Linked DNA regions of Homo sapiens: all the other regions are linked to region 1. Evidence: promoter capture Hi-C in 16 types of primary human blood cells and fetal thymus (Javierre and others, 2016). All regions are on one chromosome and are shown on one strand. The core of a region is centred on a gene start or on the middle of the fragment in contact, and the rest is flanking DNA. Distances in the headings are between cores, read along the strand shown.

Region 1 (2,700 bases), core at 44-2,543:
CGGCCACGGCCCACGTGCAGCCGCGGGAGGACCGAGCGCGGGTGCGCGGAGAGGGGTCCGTACCTCCAAACATGTGCGGCGAGAGGTGAGCTGGTAAGGAGCCGATCACCAGGCGCGGCCCGCCGGGGCTCCCGCCCACCGGCCGGTCCCGGCCGCCGCCGCCGTCCTCAGGGCTGCTGTGCACCGAGTCCTGCGAGCCGTACGGGCCGCTGCTGCTGTTCGGGATGCTGAAGGGGGACTGCGCCGCGCGGGCCCCCGACGCCACGCTCCCCACGGCCCCGCCGAGGGAGCGGCTGCGCGGGGCCGCCGGGGCTGCCGGGGCCGCCGCGGCCGCCGCGGCGCCGCCGGAGGCGCTGGGCTGGTGCGCGCTGGGCACCTGAGCCGGGAACCTCCCCGCGGCGGCGGCCCGAGCGCCCCCGCCGCCGCCCGCGGTCCCATTGGCGCCTCCGCTGCTACTGGAAGGTAGATCCGAGCCCGAGTACGCGCGCGTGCGGCCGTTAGCGGCGGCCGGGCCGCTCTGTTTGGCGCCCATGTCCGCCCTGCCCCGGGCCGGGCCCGCGCGCTGCGCCCCGAGAGCCGGGAGGGCGGGAGCGAGCGCGGGAGCTAGAGGGCAGGGCCCAGGCGCCGCGGCCGGCCCAGAGAGGCCCCCGCACGTCCAGGGCCGCCGCCCGGCGTCCAGAGGGGCAGTCGGCGCCCGGCGCGCTCTTCTTGGGGCGGCGGGCGAGGCCGACGGCCTGACGCGGGCGCGGGAGACGAGGAGACGCGGAGAGGAAGGGGTCCCGGCTGCAGGCACCCCTCGCTGGCTCCAGCAGGAAGGGGCGGCTCAAGTGGCCGTGCGGCTGCCGCTGGTTTCGGTTCTGGTGCGCCACGACGGGCCGCTACCGCTCTCTGCTGCCGCGCTCGGCGCCCCCGATCTCGGCACCGCCTCCTCTCGGGCGGCCGCTGCTACCGCCGCCATCCTCCGGCTCCCACGGCGGCTGGCGGCTGAGTGGGAGGCGCCCGCCCAGACTCCGCCGGGGCCACCTTCCCTCCTCCCCCAGCCACCCAGCTGTTATTAACGGAGAAAGAGGAAAAACGGGTGGCGCGCGAGGGGAGAACGAAAAATGGGAGGGAGAGGTGGCGCGCGCTTCCCGGCAACCGTCGCCTCGCTCCCCCTGCGAAGGAGGGGCCGGGCTGGCGGGAGGATCTGGGCCGCGAAGGCGGGGGGTGCGCAGATGGGGAGGAGGTTCCCCGGCCCCGCGCCGGAAGGCCGCGGAGCGGCGCGGCTGCAGGGTGCGCCCGGCCCGTGTGTTTGGGTCGCGCGCGTTGACCCCGCCCCCGCCCCCTCGTGCCGCCAGGCCGATTGGCTCCCGCCGGCCTTGCTCCGCCTCCCCCTTCCGCGACCTGCCTGCCCCTGCTCCGCCTCGCCAAGGTACTGCGGTGTGGTAGGTGCTGCCACTCGTGGACTCGGTGATGGACAGGTCTCTGGCCACGCCCTCCCAGCCAGGGCGCGCCCTTGTCTTCCTCGCGGGGCCTACGCCGATAGGAGGAACGGACACCGGGCGCCAACCAGAAGGCGGCCCCTCCTCCCGCACGTGGCCCGCCGACGCTGTAGGAGCCTGTGTCAGCTGCAGCTTTTCCTGGCAGGGGGCGTGAATGGCTGTGTCCTCTGCCCAGAGCCGTTTGGTTTCGGTGGGTGTTGGTGTTACACACTGATTAAAAAAAAAAACAGAAGCTCAAAAGCCAGCTTGATCTCAGACTTACTCATGAAACACCAACCTGGGAGGAAGCGCAGAGTTGGAAGAACTCGGGATAATCCAGGTTGACCCTCTGTGGTAGGGCAAATACTGTGGTGCCAGGAACGCTGCACCTGACTCACAAAACCTAGAATCTAGGCCCAACACCAAACTAAATTATCTGTAGTGAGCAAATTATTTTACTTTTTTGGACTTTAGGTTTATTTTTGTTTTTGTTTTTGAGACGGAGTCTCGCTCAGTCACCCAGGCTGGAGTGCAATGGTGTGATCTCGGCTCACTGCAACCTCCGCCTCCCGAGTTCGAGCGATTCTCCTGCCTCATCCTCCAGAGTAGCTGGGATTACAGGCACGTGCCACCACGCCTGGCTAATTTTTGTATTTTTAGTAGAGACGGTCTTTCACCATGTTGGCCAGGCTAGTCTTGAACTCCTGTCCTCAAGTGATCCACCTGCCTCGGCCTTCCAAAGTGCTGGGATTACAGGCGTGACGTACCGCACCAGGCCGACTTTAGGTTTCTTACCTGAACTGTTTGTGTTAAATCCTAGGGCACCTGCCTCTTTAAAATCCTATAACTTCTCTAAAATGTAATAAAATTCTCCTCAGTGCCTTCCTCAGTGTTGGTGTGGTCTCTTCACGGCAGAGCAGGGTCTGGATACCCAGGGAACAGCCTGCTCTGAGACTCCCATTATGAAAATGTCTAGTCTCTACTTGAAAATAATAATAGCAAGTGGTGTTTTATAAAACTACAGAAATACTTTGTCATCTTTTCACTATTTGCAATAAGTCATTTATGTAATGATTTTCATCACTCTTAGGGTATGGGAATCAAGTTTTTAAACAAATGGAGAATATATGTATACATATAAAGACGTGTATCTGTGTACACAAACACACATATATACATGGAAAAACAAAGGTACCCAGTGCTTTATATGCAGTATCATGTTAAGATATGGTCATCATTT
Region 2 (2,700 bases), core at 15-2,514, 490 kb before region 1:
AAAAATAAATCATAAAAAACACACAAAGACACTTTCCAAACAGGTGCACTTCAGAGACACCTGTTTGGTGTCAGAAACAGTGAGGGTGGGAGGAGGTATAAAGTTGAACACCTACGTGCACATTGTATCTATATGTCAGATCCAATGCTTGGAAGCTGCCCATATGTTAATATTAATCCTCATTATAAATCTGCAAAGAGTAGGTCTTACTTTCCTGTTTTACAGATAACGAAATTGAGACAGTGAGTAAAGTACTGAGGTTCACACTGCAAACTAGTAGCAAATATTTGAATTGTCTCCGTCTGACTTCAAAGTCCTTCCCCTTTCCTCCATTCAAAAAATTACGTGTATGTGTTTTCATACAAGACAAGTACCCATCGCCCTAGCCCAGTATGACACTGCAAGGACAGACAAAACACACAGAGTGCAGCCCTCAGTCACCATGTGCTGAATGAGCTAATGTATGTCCCCCTCCACTACCACGCCCAAGACCCCCCGGCGAGCTCCTTCCCCACCGAGGTCCCCATCTCCACCCTGAGGCCAGATGACAGCTAAGGACCTTCCAAGCTTGTGAACACTGCAAAAACTCTCCTGGGACAAGACAATAGGAAAACTTACAAAAATTAAAGCAACCACTGGAATTCCCACTGTTGACTAAAATGACTAAGGGTTTGACCGTCAAGAACTTTTCTGGGCTTTTGGGGTTCCCTCTGGGAGAAGTTCTTTCCGAGTGGGACCCTGACTTGCGTGGGTAGCGCACGGAGGCCGGCAGCCAGGCTAGGGCGCAGGCCTGCCCGCTGTGCGCCCGCGCTAGGATTGCTTGGCGCGGCCCCCAGGCCCCCTCCCCAGCTGCCGCCGCCCCGGAGCGCGGATGCCCCAGGAGGGCAGCGGACGGGGTCCAAACCGTGCCTTGCGGAAGCGCCCGGTGACGACGGCAGAAACGCCTCGTGGGAAATGTAGTTTCCCCTGTCCCGGGAAAGCGGCGCTCTTCTGGGGCATCTCTGGAGCAGGCAGTAGGTAGGGAACGGGCGCCCTCCCAGAAGCTGCAAAGCCTTCAGGGGAGACCCCGATGATCCCCCCAAATTAGAGCCACTTCCTGGGCTTTGGAGGGGGCGAGCCGTTACCTTTCTGCTGAGGAACTCCCTGACCAAGGAGGCGGCCACCTCCTCCACGAAGAGGCTGTCCATGGCTCTGGCTCTGGCTCTGCCCACGAGGCCCACGCCGGGCCGCAGCACCAGGCAACTGGGTCTGTCCGGCGCAGTATGGCCGCGTTGCCGTGGCGACGGCGGCGTCGGCGCGGCAAGAACTCCTCCCCTTCCCTGGGGCTGGCGGGCTGGGGCGGGAGGGAAGGGGTGGAGCGTCCCGCAAACTCGCGTCTCGGAGTGGGAGGCCGCAGTCAGGGCGCCCTGGTGTCGCCTAGGGCCCCGTCCACGGCTCCGGACTCGGGGCCTCACTCTGACCCTGGCCCTGGTCATCTGAGAGGCCTAGGACAAATTACCGCTCCGCTCCGAGGCTCCATTTTCCTAGACATAAAATGGGAAGAATACCTGCCTCCTTGTTTCTGGAGGACTAAACTCACAGGGAAGTGACCCCCTCAGGTCCACCCTCAGCACCACGGCCCCCTCTGGGGCCACCAACGCTACTGACCTTGGCGGGCCTTGACGGTGGGGGCAAGGAAGCCCAGCATTCTGCTTCTTGGGCACCGAAATTAAAGGAGATGTTCCTCGCCCCCTTGGTGCCTGCTTTCCCGTAATGAGACTGCCATTTATTGATCACCAAGCTCTTAACTCACGGTTGCACTTTTAATCCTTACAACTTCCTGGCTAGGTAGTTACTGTTGGCCCCATTCTTTAAAACGGGACACTGAGATTCAGAAAGGCTAAGATTTTGCTGAGGCCCACACAGCTGGGTACTGGGAAAGTTGGGTTTCTAACCAAGCCCAGTACATTTTCCCCGAACTTAGTCACCTGGGTTCCACCTTCACAATCTTTGCCACTTCCGCATGTTACCTATTGTATTCCTTTGCTTGGGCTGCCATACAAAGTACCACAGACCATGTGGCTTAAACAACACATTTATTGTCTCCCAGTTCTGAGGGCTACAGACCAAGATCGAGGTGTCAGCTGGATGGTTTCTCCTGAGGCCTCTCTCCCTGGCCTCTATTATAGATGGCCACCTTCTCCCAGTGTCTTCACGTGGCTAGCCGTCCGTGTGTGCCTGTGTCCTAATCTCTTCTTATAAAGACATCAGTTGTATTGGAATAGGGTCCACCCTAATGACTGCATTTCCACTTCATCACCTCTTTAAAGACCCTATCCAACACAGTCACATTCTGGAATACCAGGCATTAGGACTTCAACACGGGAATTTTTTTTTCTTTTTTTTTTTTTTTTTTTGAGACAGAGTCCCGCTCAGGTGCCCGGGCTGGAATGCAGTGGCGCAATCTCGGCTCACTGCCAAGTGAACAACCACCTCCCGGATTCAAACCATTCTCCTCCCTCAGCCTCCTGAGTAGCTGGGATTTCAGGCGCCCACCACCGTGCCCAGCTAATATTTGTACTTTTAGTAGAGACGGGGTTTCACCATGTTGCCAGACTGGTCTTGAACTCCTGACCTCAGGCAGTCCGCCCACCTCGGCCTCCCAAAGTGCTGGGATTACAGGCGTGAGCCACCGCACCCGGCCCAACACAGGAGTTTTGA
Region 3 (2,700 bases), core at 123-2,622, 300 kb before region 1:
AGTGGCGCAATCTCGGCTCACTGCAAGCTCCGCTTCCCGGGTTCACGCCATTCTCCTGCCTCAGCCTCCCGAGTAGCTGGGACTACAGGCGCCCGCCACCGCGCCCGGCTAATTTTTTGTATTTTTAGTAGAGACGGGGTTTCACCTTGTTAGCCAGGATGGTCTCGATCTCCTGACCTCATGATCCACCCGCCTCGGCCTCCCAAAGTGCTGGGATTACAGGCGTGAGCCACCGCGCCCGGCCGATTCCTTAGGATTTTCTGTATTAATATGCATATACTTTGTAAATAGAATCAGTTTTACTTCTTTCTTTCCAATATTTATGCCTTTTTCTTTTACTTGTGTGGTTGCGTAGTCTAGGTCATCTTGCACAATATTGAATAGAAGCAGTGAATGAACATCTTGCCTTGTTCCTGATATTAGAGGGAAAAGTGTTCAATGTTTCTCCATTTAGTGTAATGCTAACAAATTCAACTTGGTTTTGTCTTTCTTATATTCTGCTGGATTTTATTTACTAACATCTTGATAAAGATTTTTGCCTGTATGTTCATGAAAAATGAACATACAGGCAATCAGTGTATTGTTTTCTTTTCTTGTATCTTTGCCAGGTTTTGGCCTGGCTTTATAAAATCAGAGTTTCTTTCTTCTCTATTTTCTGAAATTTCAATATTTGTAAGATTGTTATCATTTCTTCCATAACCATTTGATAGAATTCACCAGTGAATTCTGGAGTTTTCTTTGTGGAAAAGTTTTTTTGCAGTTGCAGAGCCATCCATGCTTTCTATTTCATCTTTTGCCACTTTTGGTAAGTTTTGTTTTTCAGGGAATCTGGCCATTTCATATAAGTTATCAGATTTATTGTTTTAAAGTTGTTCATAATATTCCAGTAGTATTATTTGAATATATGTATAAGATCTGGAATGAAATCTCCTCTTTCATTCCTGATACCAGTAATTAGTTTTTTTCTCTCCCTCTCTTTTCTTGATTAGTCTTGCTAAAAGCTTACCAATTTTATCAATTTTGTTAAACATAAAAGTTTTGGGTTTGTTAATGTTCTCTATTATTTTGTCTATTTTCTATTCCATTGATTTCCACTTTTATCTTTATAATGTTTTCCTTTTTACTTACTCTGGGTTTAATTTGCTCTTCTTTTTTAGCTTCTCAATATGAAAATTTATAAGCCTTTCTTCTAAGACAAACATTTGAAATTATAGATTTCCTTCTACTTACTGCTTTAGTTAAATCCACAAATTTTTGATACATTGTTTTCATTTTCATTTAGTTCAAAGTACTTTCTAATTTTCTTTATGATTTCTTCTTTGACTTACTCCTTGTCGAGAAAAGTGTTATTTAATTTCCAAATATTTAGGGCTTTTTAACATATCCTATTATTTTAATTGTTGCTTTCTAGTTTAATTCCTGTGTGATCTGAGAAAGCCTTTTGAAATTTATTGACTTGTTTATGACTCAACATATGGTATATCTTGGCGAACACTCCATGTGTACTTAAAAATTGTGTATTATCCAGTTATCGTATGTAGTGTTTTATACATGTCAATTAGACCAAGGTGGTTGATAGTGTTGTTCAGATCTTCTGTATTACTTCAACCCAAATAACAGACAGAGGGAGATTCTCCAGAGATATTGAGTTTATTTGAGATGTGCAGGGGACTTGCAAATCCAGGATATAGGGCTCTTGGGACCATAGGCATAACTGAAGAGGCTGAGGCAAGGGGAAGCTTTTAAAGGCAACAGGGAGAAGGACACATAATTTGCCTTGAAACAGAGAATATTGGTTACAGGGGCTTATCACAGGAGTTGAAGCCAGTTCATTAGTGAAGACAGTGTGTCAGGCAGGTGTTGTTGTACATCTGGCTAGCTATCATTGTGATTCATGTAGCAGTTTGGGAAGTCTTTGACAAAAGTTCTTCTTACAGGCATGGGTGGGTAAGAGCTCTTCAGAGAGTCTTTGTAATCGTGTTCTTATCATAGATATGTGTGCAACACCCCCCCACACACCGCCCTGCTTCTCAGCCTCCCAGCCTTATTTATTTATTTTTGTTAGAGTTTGACATAAGTAATTCCACTTAGATTCTGACAACTTTCATGATCATTACTAATTTTTTATCTAGTTCTATCAGTAACTAAGAGAAGAAGTTAAAGTATCTAACCACGACTGTGGATTTGTCTATTTCTCCCTTTAGTTCTTTCACGTTTGCTTTATGTATTTTGAATTTGTTATGAGGCATGTACACATTTATAATTGTTATATCTTACTGGCAAATGGCATTTTTTTTATTATGAAATATTCTTCTTCATCTCAAAATATACTTTTTATCTTATAATATATTTAGCCTAACATTAATATAGCCACTCCAACTTTTTTATGATTAGTGCCAATAGTCAGTGAGGACCTGTGGCCTCCTGCCAACAGCCATGGGGTTGAGCTATGCAGGAGGTAGATTTTTCAGCCCCAGTCCAGCCTTCAGATGACTGCAGCCCCAGATGACATCTCAAATCTAACCTTATGAAAGACCCTGATCCAGAACTTGCCAGCTAAACTTCTTCCATATTTTTGACTTTCAAAAACATTGAGACAATAAATATTTGTTGTTTTTTAAGCTGCTAGTTTTAGAGTAATTTGTTACATAACAGTAGATAACTAATACAGGAATCTTCCCTGAACTGAGTATACAATTC
Region 4 (2,700 bases), core at 142-2,641, 330 kb before region 1:
CAGGCCCTAAAATGAAGTTTTAGAAATATTTTCCTCGGTAGCAAACATTTTCATAGCACGTATTAGAAAATGTATTAAGTAATTAGTGTGGCAGTACTACTTTGGCAATGCCATTTCATTTAATTACACCAGTGAGTCAAAACCCCACTTCTCAAAAAGCAGAAATAAAAATAAATTTAAAAACACCACCTCAGGCCGCGCGCAGTCGCTCACACCTGTAATCCCAGCACTTTGGGAGGCTGAAGTGGGCGGATCACCTGAGGTTGGGAGTTCGAGATCAGCCTGACCAACATGGAGAAACCCTGTCTCTACTAAAAACACAAAATTAGCCAGGCGTGGTGGCACATGCCTGTAATCCCAGCTACTCAGGAGGCTGAGGCAAGAGAATCGCTTGAACCTGGGAGGCAGAGGTTGCAGTGAGCCGAGATCACGCCATTGCACTCCAGCCTGGGCAACAAGAGCGAAACTCCATCTCAAAACAAACAAACAAAAAACACCACCTCTCCCATAGTGCCCCTTAAACCCCTGATGTCTTCTAAGTCATCATGTACATGGAGGCAGATGACAATCTTAGGTCCTTTGGAAAATAATACCCATGCCTATGTTTAGCCCTGTTAACCCACATATTAAAACTTAACTGAGGGGCTAAAAAGAAATCAGTATAGGCTCACATTTAACATCAGCACTCACTTATCACTATCACCTCACCAAGCCAGGTAATTTTCAATGTTTTTCAAATCATTTTATTATCTGCAGTATTTTATATTTTCAACCAGAGGCTTCCGCATTTCTCTGTATTTTAAAGATATAGTCAAGCAAATACACTACTATAACCACTGCCCTCTCAATTTCCTAGAAGATATTCTGTGCAAAACATCCACTAAGGAAACGCTCCCAATGGCCTACTTCAGAATAAGTATTTTACTAAAATAACTTTAAAACCAAGGGCTAAAAACCCTAAAATTGTACCCTCTTCTTACTTAACAGACCAACTCTTTTGATTTTTATGGCCCTTTCCAGATTTCATCCAAATGTAAGTAAAGTTTATACATATATTTACAGTTAGTATGTATAAAATCATGTATTACCTATTTTATACTTCCCATTTTCTAAATAATGGCACAAATTTCTCACATTTAATAGTGACAGAATATTATCCCAAACTAATCCACTTTACCATAATTTGTTTAACCACTCTCAAATTACTGAATAGGTTATTTCTACTTTCAATTTATATACTTCTTCTAAGTATAATTTCCTTTCCTTCTGAATTATTTCCTTAGATCAATTCCCAGAAATGGAATGTCTGGGTCACAGGTTATGTCTCATTTTATGACTCTGTACATATGGCCAAAATGAAAGGCTTGCCACTGGCCTCTTTCCATGAAATATTCCAAATCAACCTGATGTCTCATTAGAATAATTAACTGCAACACATTTTGTCACAATTAATTTTTCTTATTCTTCAGTCCCTACTCTGGGAAACACGATCTATCTAGCTCATGTAGGAAAAACTTACTCTCTTACCCTATCATAGAAAAATATCTAAAGCTATGAAATGGAACACTGGCTAAGTCTGTTAAACAGTGGACAAGGAATCAGAAGATAAAGATTCCAATTCTGAATCATACTGTAAACTAACCAGATATTCTTTATCCATGAAAACCACATCTTTCAAATCAACAGGCTATACCTATGCTGTCCAATATGGTAGGACACCAGGCAGATGTCTATTTAAATTTCAATTAAGATGAAATAAATTTTAAAATTCAGTGCCTCAGAAGAACTGGACCCATTATGAGTGCTCAAGAGCCAAATGTGGCTGGTAGCTAATCATACTGGACAACACACATTACAGAACATTTCCATCACTGCAGAAAGTTCCGTTGGACAGTAGCATGCTAAACTAAATGGTTTCTAAAATATCCTTCAGCAATAAGTTCAACGGCTTTTAAAACCATTCTTCAACTGTCCCTTCTACCCTATGCAGCTATAACTAGAAGATATAGTGATCAGAGACTTTATTTTATGCCAAAAAAATACATATATGCCAAAAAAGAAATTATATTCAGAAAGAATTTTTTAAAAGATTTATTTCTGCCATTATTTCTCCATAATACATTCATCTGTACTTCTGTATATCACTTTTTAAAAATTTTTCCTTCATAACATTGATATTTACCTTTTAATATAAGCAATTTTAAAAACTTCATTACATAAACAGGTAAACAATAAGTGATACATACCCAGGCATGTTTCCTCCAGGCCCAATGAAAGTCTTGAACATTAAGTTAAAAGACACTGGAGGGGATAGATCATTTCCAGTAATGGGAGATTTTACATTATAGTTCACAAAAAGATCCGCAAGTTCTTGCTGTCCATAGTTATCAAGCTAAAAGACATATAAAGAAATTAGTGTAAAAGACAGAGAAAACAAGGCATAAGATATAAAGTATTATATATAACCCTAGCCATCCACTGCTACAATCACACAAAATTCAGGAACATCACAATTAACCTAACCTTCAGGACACCCACATTAAAACCATAACCAATTTATTCACTTTCCATTTATCAAGAGAGAAAAAAATATCCTTCTGGGACCTAAAACTCATATAGTCACTGTTTCAAAGTGAAAGATAAAGCAAAATACCTCTTATTCAATTATAATAGTTATTGGTTGGCAAGAATCTGAAATTA
Region 5 (2,700 bases), core at 172-2,671, 290 kb before region 1:
AAATATGAAACCACTGTTCCAATAAATTTAAACAATAGTGTATGTTGACAATTCTGAAGCCATTCTAATTCTAATTTTATTTCATGACTACTTTCAAAACCAGCTTATTTATTAAAGATATACTTAAGTCACATGAACTTGAAAAGACATTTGGCTTAAAATCTCTATTTTCTCTGATACAGTATTTGATTTAAAGCCCCTTTTTTTCTTTAAGCCAATTAATTAGAGCACTTTTACATGTTTCTAGTAGTGAAACATCATATACATGACACATAAATACATAGATGTATTATACATGCAGATAGAAGTAGAGCTTATCATTTCACAAGACCTCTTTTTTTCCTCCAGTTCTAGACTTCTAATTTCTTGATCTTATTACCCTAGGCAGTTGTCAGCTAAGATAACCCTAAATTTGCATATTAAAGGAACTCTTAGATGAAAAAAATCAGATAGTGAAATTTACATCTCAAGGTACAGAGAGAAAGAGTCTGGTGCTAGTGTTTCCAGAATTTATTCCTTCTGGTGGGTTCTTGGTCTCTCTGACTTCAAGAAAGAAGCCTCGGACCTTGCAGTGAGTGTTACAGCTCTTAAAGGTGGCGTGTCCAGGGTTGTTTGTTCCTTCTGGTGGGTTTGTGGTCTCACTTCAGGAATGAAGCTGCAGACCCTCATGGTGAGTGTTACAGCAATTAAAGGTAGTGTGGACCCAAAGAGTGAGCAGCAGCAAGATTTATTATGAAGAGCGAAAGAACAAAGCTTCCACAGCATGGAAAGGGACCTGAGCGGGTTGATGCTGCTGGCTGTGGTGACCAGCTTTTATTCCCTTATTCGTCCCCACCCACGTCCTGGTGATTGGTCCATTTTACAGAGCACTGATTGGTCCATTTCACAGAGTGCTGATTGGTGCATTTTACAGAGTGCTGATTGGCGCATTTACAATCCTTTAGCTAGACACAGAGTGCTGATTGGTGCATTTTTACAGAGTGCTGATTGGTGCATTTACAATCCTTTAGCCACAGAGTGCTGATTGGTGCATTTACAATCCTTTAGCTAGACACAGAGCACTGATTGGTGCATTGTTATAGAGTGCTGCTTGGTGCATTTACAATCCTTTAGCTAGACACAGAGCACTGATTGGTGCATTGTTATAGAGTGCTGCTTGGTGCATTTACAATCCTTTAGCTAGACACAGAGCGCTGATTGGTGCGTTTTTACAGAGTGCTGATTGGTATATTTACAATCCTTTAGCTAGACACAGAGCACTGATTGGTGTGTTTATAATCCTCTAGCTAGACAGAAAAGTTCCCCAAGTCCCCACTCGACCCAGGAAGTCCAGCTGGTTTCACCTCTCACTAGTAGGAGGAGATTAAAAACGAATGCCAAATCAAACATAAAATTATAGAAATCTATCATAGGATTATATTAGAAGACTGACTTTATTTATATAAGTAGTTCTAAATTTAGTCTGCCTTTTAACTGGATCTCTGAGCTCTGGGCAGAGCCCACACTGAATTCCGGGTCTCCAAAAAGAGAATTATTATGAGGCTAAGACCATGTGATGGTTTTATGAGTGCACTCTCCTTTTTTTTTTTTTTTTAACAAAAATGTTTCTCTAAGTGTCTGAACTACTCTCTTCCTAACTTTAAACACCCAACAGTAACCTCTGTTGTTACTCTTTGACTAAAATAATTATTTTAGTTAAAAAAAAAAAAAAAAGAAGAAAGAAAGAAACCAGGTAACACTATACAAAAGGAAGCAGTGTAAGATCTGAGACGAAATTTTCTCTTTTACACTCTTTGAGTTCCATAAGGAGAAACAGAGGTTGCTCCCCAAAAGGGAGTCTAGTGCCTTCTCTGTTTTCTTTAAGGAATCCCAGGGTGTTAGAAACTATTTTAGATTCCTCATGCAGCACAGGGTAGCAAGAGAAAGAAGAGGCAGCAGAAGTAAAATGAAGAAAACAGAATTTGGTTGACGGAGAAGAAAAAAACTTTTGCTCAAAAAGTTGAAGGAGAGAAATAAAAAAGGCCTTAACTACACACACACACACACACACACACACACACCTTGGATGTTAGCTTTTATTTAAGCTTTTAGCCACTAAGCTCCTTAAAAAAAATACCTTCAAATCTCATTACTGTATTTTAGCTAGTACAAACTGCTGATATTTCAAAAGTAATGCAAATACCAAACCAGAAAGGGCTTGATTTAGGAACCAAACTTAGGCAGTCATGATGAAAATAAGGACAGAATCTTAGTTTCCAAACTGCAGTGCTGGGGGACAACCATTGCTCTTTCAGTTTGGCCTGGTTAGCAAAAGATGGCCTTGTTATGTAAATAAAGCCCCTAAGGTAGTCAAAATCAAAAAAAATTTTTTTTTCCTTTTGCTAGCTGTTTTTTTCTTTTTTCTTTTTCAGTTGCAGGAATTTAGCCAATTCAGAGGTCTTGTTCTCCATAATTTGGAATTTTCCTTCGGATTTGATCAAGTTGGATAGAGTTGGTCAAACCCAATGGGAAAAAGATGAAAACAACAAGAAACAGAAACAAACAGCAACAACAACAACAACAAAAACAGTTAAGTGAAACAAACAAACAATCACACAATTTATGTGGTCACTGAGTGCTCTAATAGTAAGGAGAAATTAAGACCAGCTGGCTGTTAGTCTTAACTCTAGCCAAGACAAAACTCCAATTCAGCTACTTACC
Region 6 (2,700 bases), core at 146-2,645, 270 kb before region 1:
GCACCAGTCAAGAGCAGGAGCAAGAGGAAAGGAAGGTAGCCTCTTCTTCCTGCAGTGTCTCTCCAGAGCCCTCCATTGACAGCACTTAATATCGTGCTAGCAGGCAAAGAAATGTTTACAGGATTCATCTCCAGTATCACAAAGGAGGATAACGAAGAGTGGATTTGGAATTCAGAGGCTCTAAAGTGATAACTGTCACAGCCCACCCCTTTGGCTACTCAGTTTCCATATGCACCCTCCTACACATACCTGAACTTCTATATGACAACGAACAAAATACAGCTATCCTTCTTACCAGGGAAAATATTCCTACCCTTTCTCCCAAATGAGAAGATACTCGTGCCAACAACAATTTTATCTATCTCTGGCTATATTCATTACTCGAATTTGATCACAGTCCCTCTAAATATTCTGTTACCAAAAGACCAAATTGTAAAGCTAACCTCCAACAACTTGTATATAAACTGATAAAGGGAAGAAGGAGAGAGAGATAAAATGGATGGCATTTTCCCATCACCCATCTATCAGTGGGAAAGAACTCTGGGGAAGTGCTCTTGAGGAAGTATCTTTGGGAAGAATCCCTGATTGGCCCTACTTGGGTCATGTGTGTTGGAATCTGTGAAAGTCGGGAATTTTGCCCATCTTACAAGCTAGTAAGCCTGTTATGGTTTCATGGATGCTGGCAGATGACATGAGACTGGATCAGAGACAAAGGACTACACTACTCATGGCAGAACAAGTTGCACGAGGTTTGTGTTAGTTAGCATTGGTTTTCCTTGTCCCCAAGTCCCACAGGGGTGATGTGGAGGGGCCCAGGTGGTTACTGTACACGCAGTGTGTTTGTACTGCAGCTAAGGAACACTGAGCTTGGGAACATACAATTTAATAGTAAGTGGTGAGCAAGTCTGCCCTTTGTCTGGGGCAGGGGGATATTGCTTTGTCAAGGCTGTCTACTGCAAACACAACCCTGAGAAATATCCCAAGCAAGGAACAGTCAGGACCTTGCATTCTTGTCATCCCCAGCAAGAGCATGCAGAGACAATCAGAGCCTGTGGCAAATTGCCTGTCACAAAAATCCACCACAAGGCCTGACAGATCCTTGGCCAAATTCACATTTTCCCATGAGTATGCTACCTCATCAGCTGCTCTGATTAGTCTGACCAACAGAGGGACCAAATCTGTTTAATTTGATTCCTATCACATTTAAAATTAAGGCTGCTATTGACAGGACTTCAAGCAATACAGTGCAGCAAGTCTGCCATATTGATCTCACCCATGTCCCCAGGGTCCCGGGCTCAACCAACTGTCTAAAAGTTCTGGGGGCAAGGGAGACCAGTCATTCCTATTTCAGATAGCTAGGATAAAATCTAATATCAGTCTAGTATTCATTATGACCCACTCATGGGAGTTTAGATTCACTGATATCATTGCCAGTGACTACAGGAGGCAATGTAGGGAGCAAAGACCCTCATCCCTGATGGAAGGACATTCATGGCCTCTCCCTTTCAAAGAGACAATCCAAAGGGGAGCAGGTCACTCTAGTTTGGAATTTGTTGTTAAATTTGATTTGAATCATCATTGCATTGGTTTGGTTAGGTAAGATGGTTAAATTTTACGTGTCAACTTGGCTGGGTCATGAGACTAAGATATTTGGTCAAACATTACTCTGGATGTTTCTGTGAGGGTGTTTTTGGATGAGATTAACATTTAAATCATTGGACTTTGAGTAAAGCAGATGACTCTACCTAATGTGGATGGTCCTCAACCAATCAATTGGAGGCCTAAATAGAACAAAAGACTGACCTCTTCCAGGCAAGAAGGAATTCTGCCAGCACATGAACTTTGCACTTGAACTGAAACAGTGGCTCTCCTGGGTCTCCAGCCTGCCAGCCCCCACCCTGCAGATTTTGGACTTGCCAGCCTCCATAATCATGGCAGCCCATTCCTTAAAATAAATCTCACTCTCTCTCTTCCTCTAGAATATACATACATATATATATATATATACACACACACACGCACACACATATAATATTATATATATTTTATATGCACACACAAAATAACAGATAGATAGATATCGTATTAGTTCTGTTTTTTTGGAGAACCCTGACTAGTCCTAGTTGCCTTTCTTTTCTTTTTCCACTTTTCTTCTGAGCTCATGTTCCACCTTCTGATATCTTAACATCATTTCCCTGAGCTCACTTTATCCTTTTCCTTCTTAAAGGCGACCATTTCATTAAGTTTTTAAGTGCCTGGTAATTGCTTGGTTATGACCGGTGTCTGCTCCATGGCAGCCTCTTCCTGGTGAGTATTCCACATCTGCCATTGGTTTTTCCTATCCCTTTCCTACATTTGCAGAGATCCTGCATGTCTTCCTTTTTGATGACTCATCTTTGAACAAGTGGAATTTTTTTTTTTTTTTTTTTTTGAGACGGAGTCTCACTCTGTCGCCAGGCAGGAGTGCAGTGGCGCAATCTTGGTGCACTGCAACCTCCGCCTCCCGGGTTCCAGTGATTCTCCTGCCTCAGCCTCCCAAGTAGCTGGGACTACAGGTGCCCGCCACCATGCCCAGCTAATTTTTTGTATTTTTAGTAGAGACGGGGTTTCACCATGTTGGCCAGGATGGTCTTGATCTCTTGACCTCGTGATCCACCTGCCTCAGCCTCCCAAAGTGCTGGGATTACAGGCGTGAGCCAC

The links. Contacts are between HindIII fragments. The CHiCAGO score rates a contact against its expected background, and 5 or more counts as called.
Region 2: the fragment with the promoter of MINDY4 here is called in contact with the fragment with the promoter of ZNRF2 in region 1 in 2 of 17 cell types (naive CD8 T cells and activated CD4 T cells); the score reaches 5.4 in naive CD8 T cells.
Region 3: a fragment that was not itself captured here is called in contact with the fragment with the promoter of ZNRF2 in region 1 in 5 of 17 cell types (naive CD4 T cells, total CD4 T cells, naive CD8 T cells and 2 more); the score reaches 7.7 in naive CD4 T cells.
Region 4: a contact is called between a fragment that was not itself captured here and the fragment with the promoter of ZNRF2 in region 1, in 1 of 17 cell types (activated CD4 T cells). The highest score is 5.1, in activated CD4 T cells.
Region 5: a contact is called between a fragment that was not itself captured here and the fragment with the promoter of ZNRF2 in region 1, in 4 of 17 cell types (naive CD4 T cells, total B cells, fetal thymus and 1 more). The highest score is 7.1, in naive CD4 T cells.
Region 6: a fragment that was not itself captured here is called in contact with the fragment with the promoter of ZNRF2 in region 1 in 7 of 17 cell types (total B cells, total CD4 T cells, fetal thymus and 4 more); the score reaches 7.0 in total B cells.

Annotation. Positions count from the first base shown.
Region 1 is chr7:30,283,190-30,285,889 of GRCh38, reverse strand. It overlaps ZNRF2 (zinc and ring finger 2), which reads right to left and starts at 1,293. Exons shown (of 5, transcript NM_147128.4): 1 at 64-1,293. The coding sequence starts at 532. LOC124901607 (a long non-coding RNA gene) reads right to left here. Exons shown (of 3, transcript XR_007060274.1): 3 at 1,636-1,691. All of the region lies in intron 1 of LOC105375218 (a long non-coding RNA gene), which reads left to right. RefSeq lists silencers at 48-177, 328-407, 488-877, 958-1,007, 1,018-1,447. The HindIII fragment of the contact is 18,269 bases long and covers 1-2,700 here.
Region 2 is chr7:30,769,981-30,772,680 of GRCh38, reverse strand. MINDY4 (MINDY lysine 48 deubiquitinase 4) reads right to left here and starts at 1,264. Exons shown (of 18, transcript NM_032222.3): 1 at 1,125-1,264. The coding sequence starts at 1,187. The region is part of intron 3 of INMT-MINDY4 (INMT-MINDY4 readthrough (NMD candidate)); the gene reads right to left. RefSeq lists silencers at 704-853, 1,224-1,273, 1,334-1,383 and an enhancer at 854-1,148. The HindIII fragment of the contact is 5,437 bases long and covers 570-2,700 here.
Region 3 is chr7:30,588,121-30,590,820 of GRCh38, reverse strand. No RefSeq gene overlaps it. Among named protein-coding and RNA genes, the nearest start is that of GARS1, 5.4 kb to the left of the region's middle. The HindIII fragment of the contact is 738 bases long and covers 1,004-1,741 here.
Region 4 is chr7:30,609,277-30,611,976 of GRCh38, reverse strand. It overlaps GARS1 (glycyl-tRNA synthetase 1), which reads right to left. Exons shown (of 17, transcript NM_002047.4): 7 at 2,247-2,392. Among named protein-coding and RNA genes, the nearest start is that of GARS1, 16 kb to the right of the region's middle. The HindIII fragment of the contact is 3,439 bases long and covers 1-2,700 here.
Region 5 is chr7:30,568,701-30,571,400 of GRCh38, reverse strand. It overlaps GARS1-DT (GARS1 divergent transcript), which reads left to right. Exons shown (of 7, transcript NR_038889.1): 3 at 2,412-2,568. Among named protein-coding and RNA genes, the nearest start is that of GARS1-DT, 7.7 kb to the left of the region's middle. The HindIII fragment of the contact is 1,331 bases long and covers 756-2,086 here.
Region 6 is chr7:30,551,707-30,554,406 of GRCh38, reverse strand. It overlaps GARS1-DT (GARS1 divergent transcript), which reads left to right. Exons shown (of 7, transcript NR_038889.1): 6 at 2,228-2,307. Among named protein-coding and RNA genes, the nearest start is that of GARS1-DT, 25 kb to the left of the region's middle. The HindIII fragment of the contact is 7,366 bases long and covers 1-2,700 here.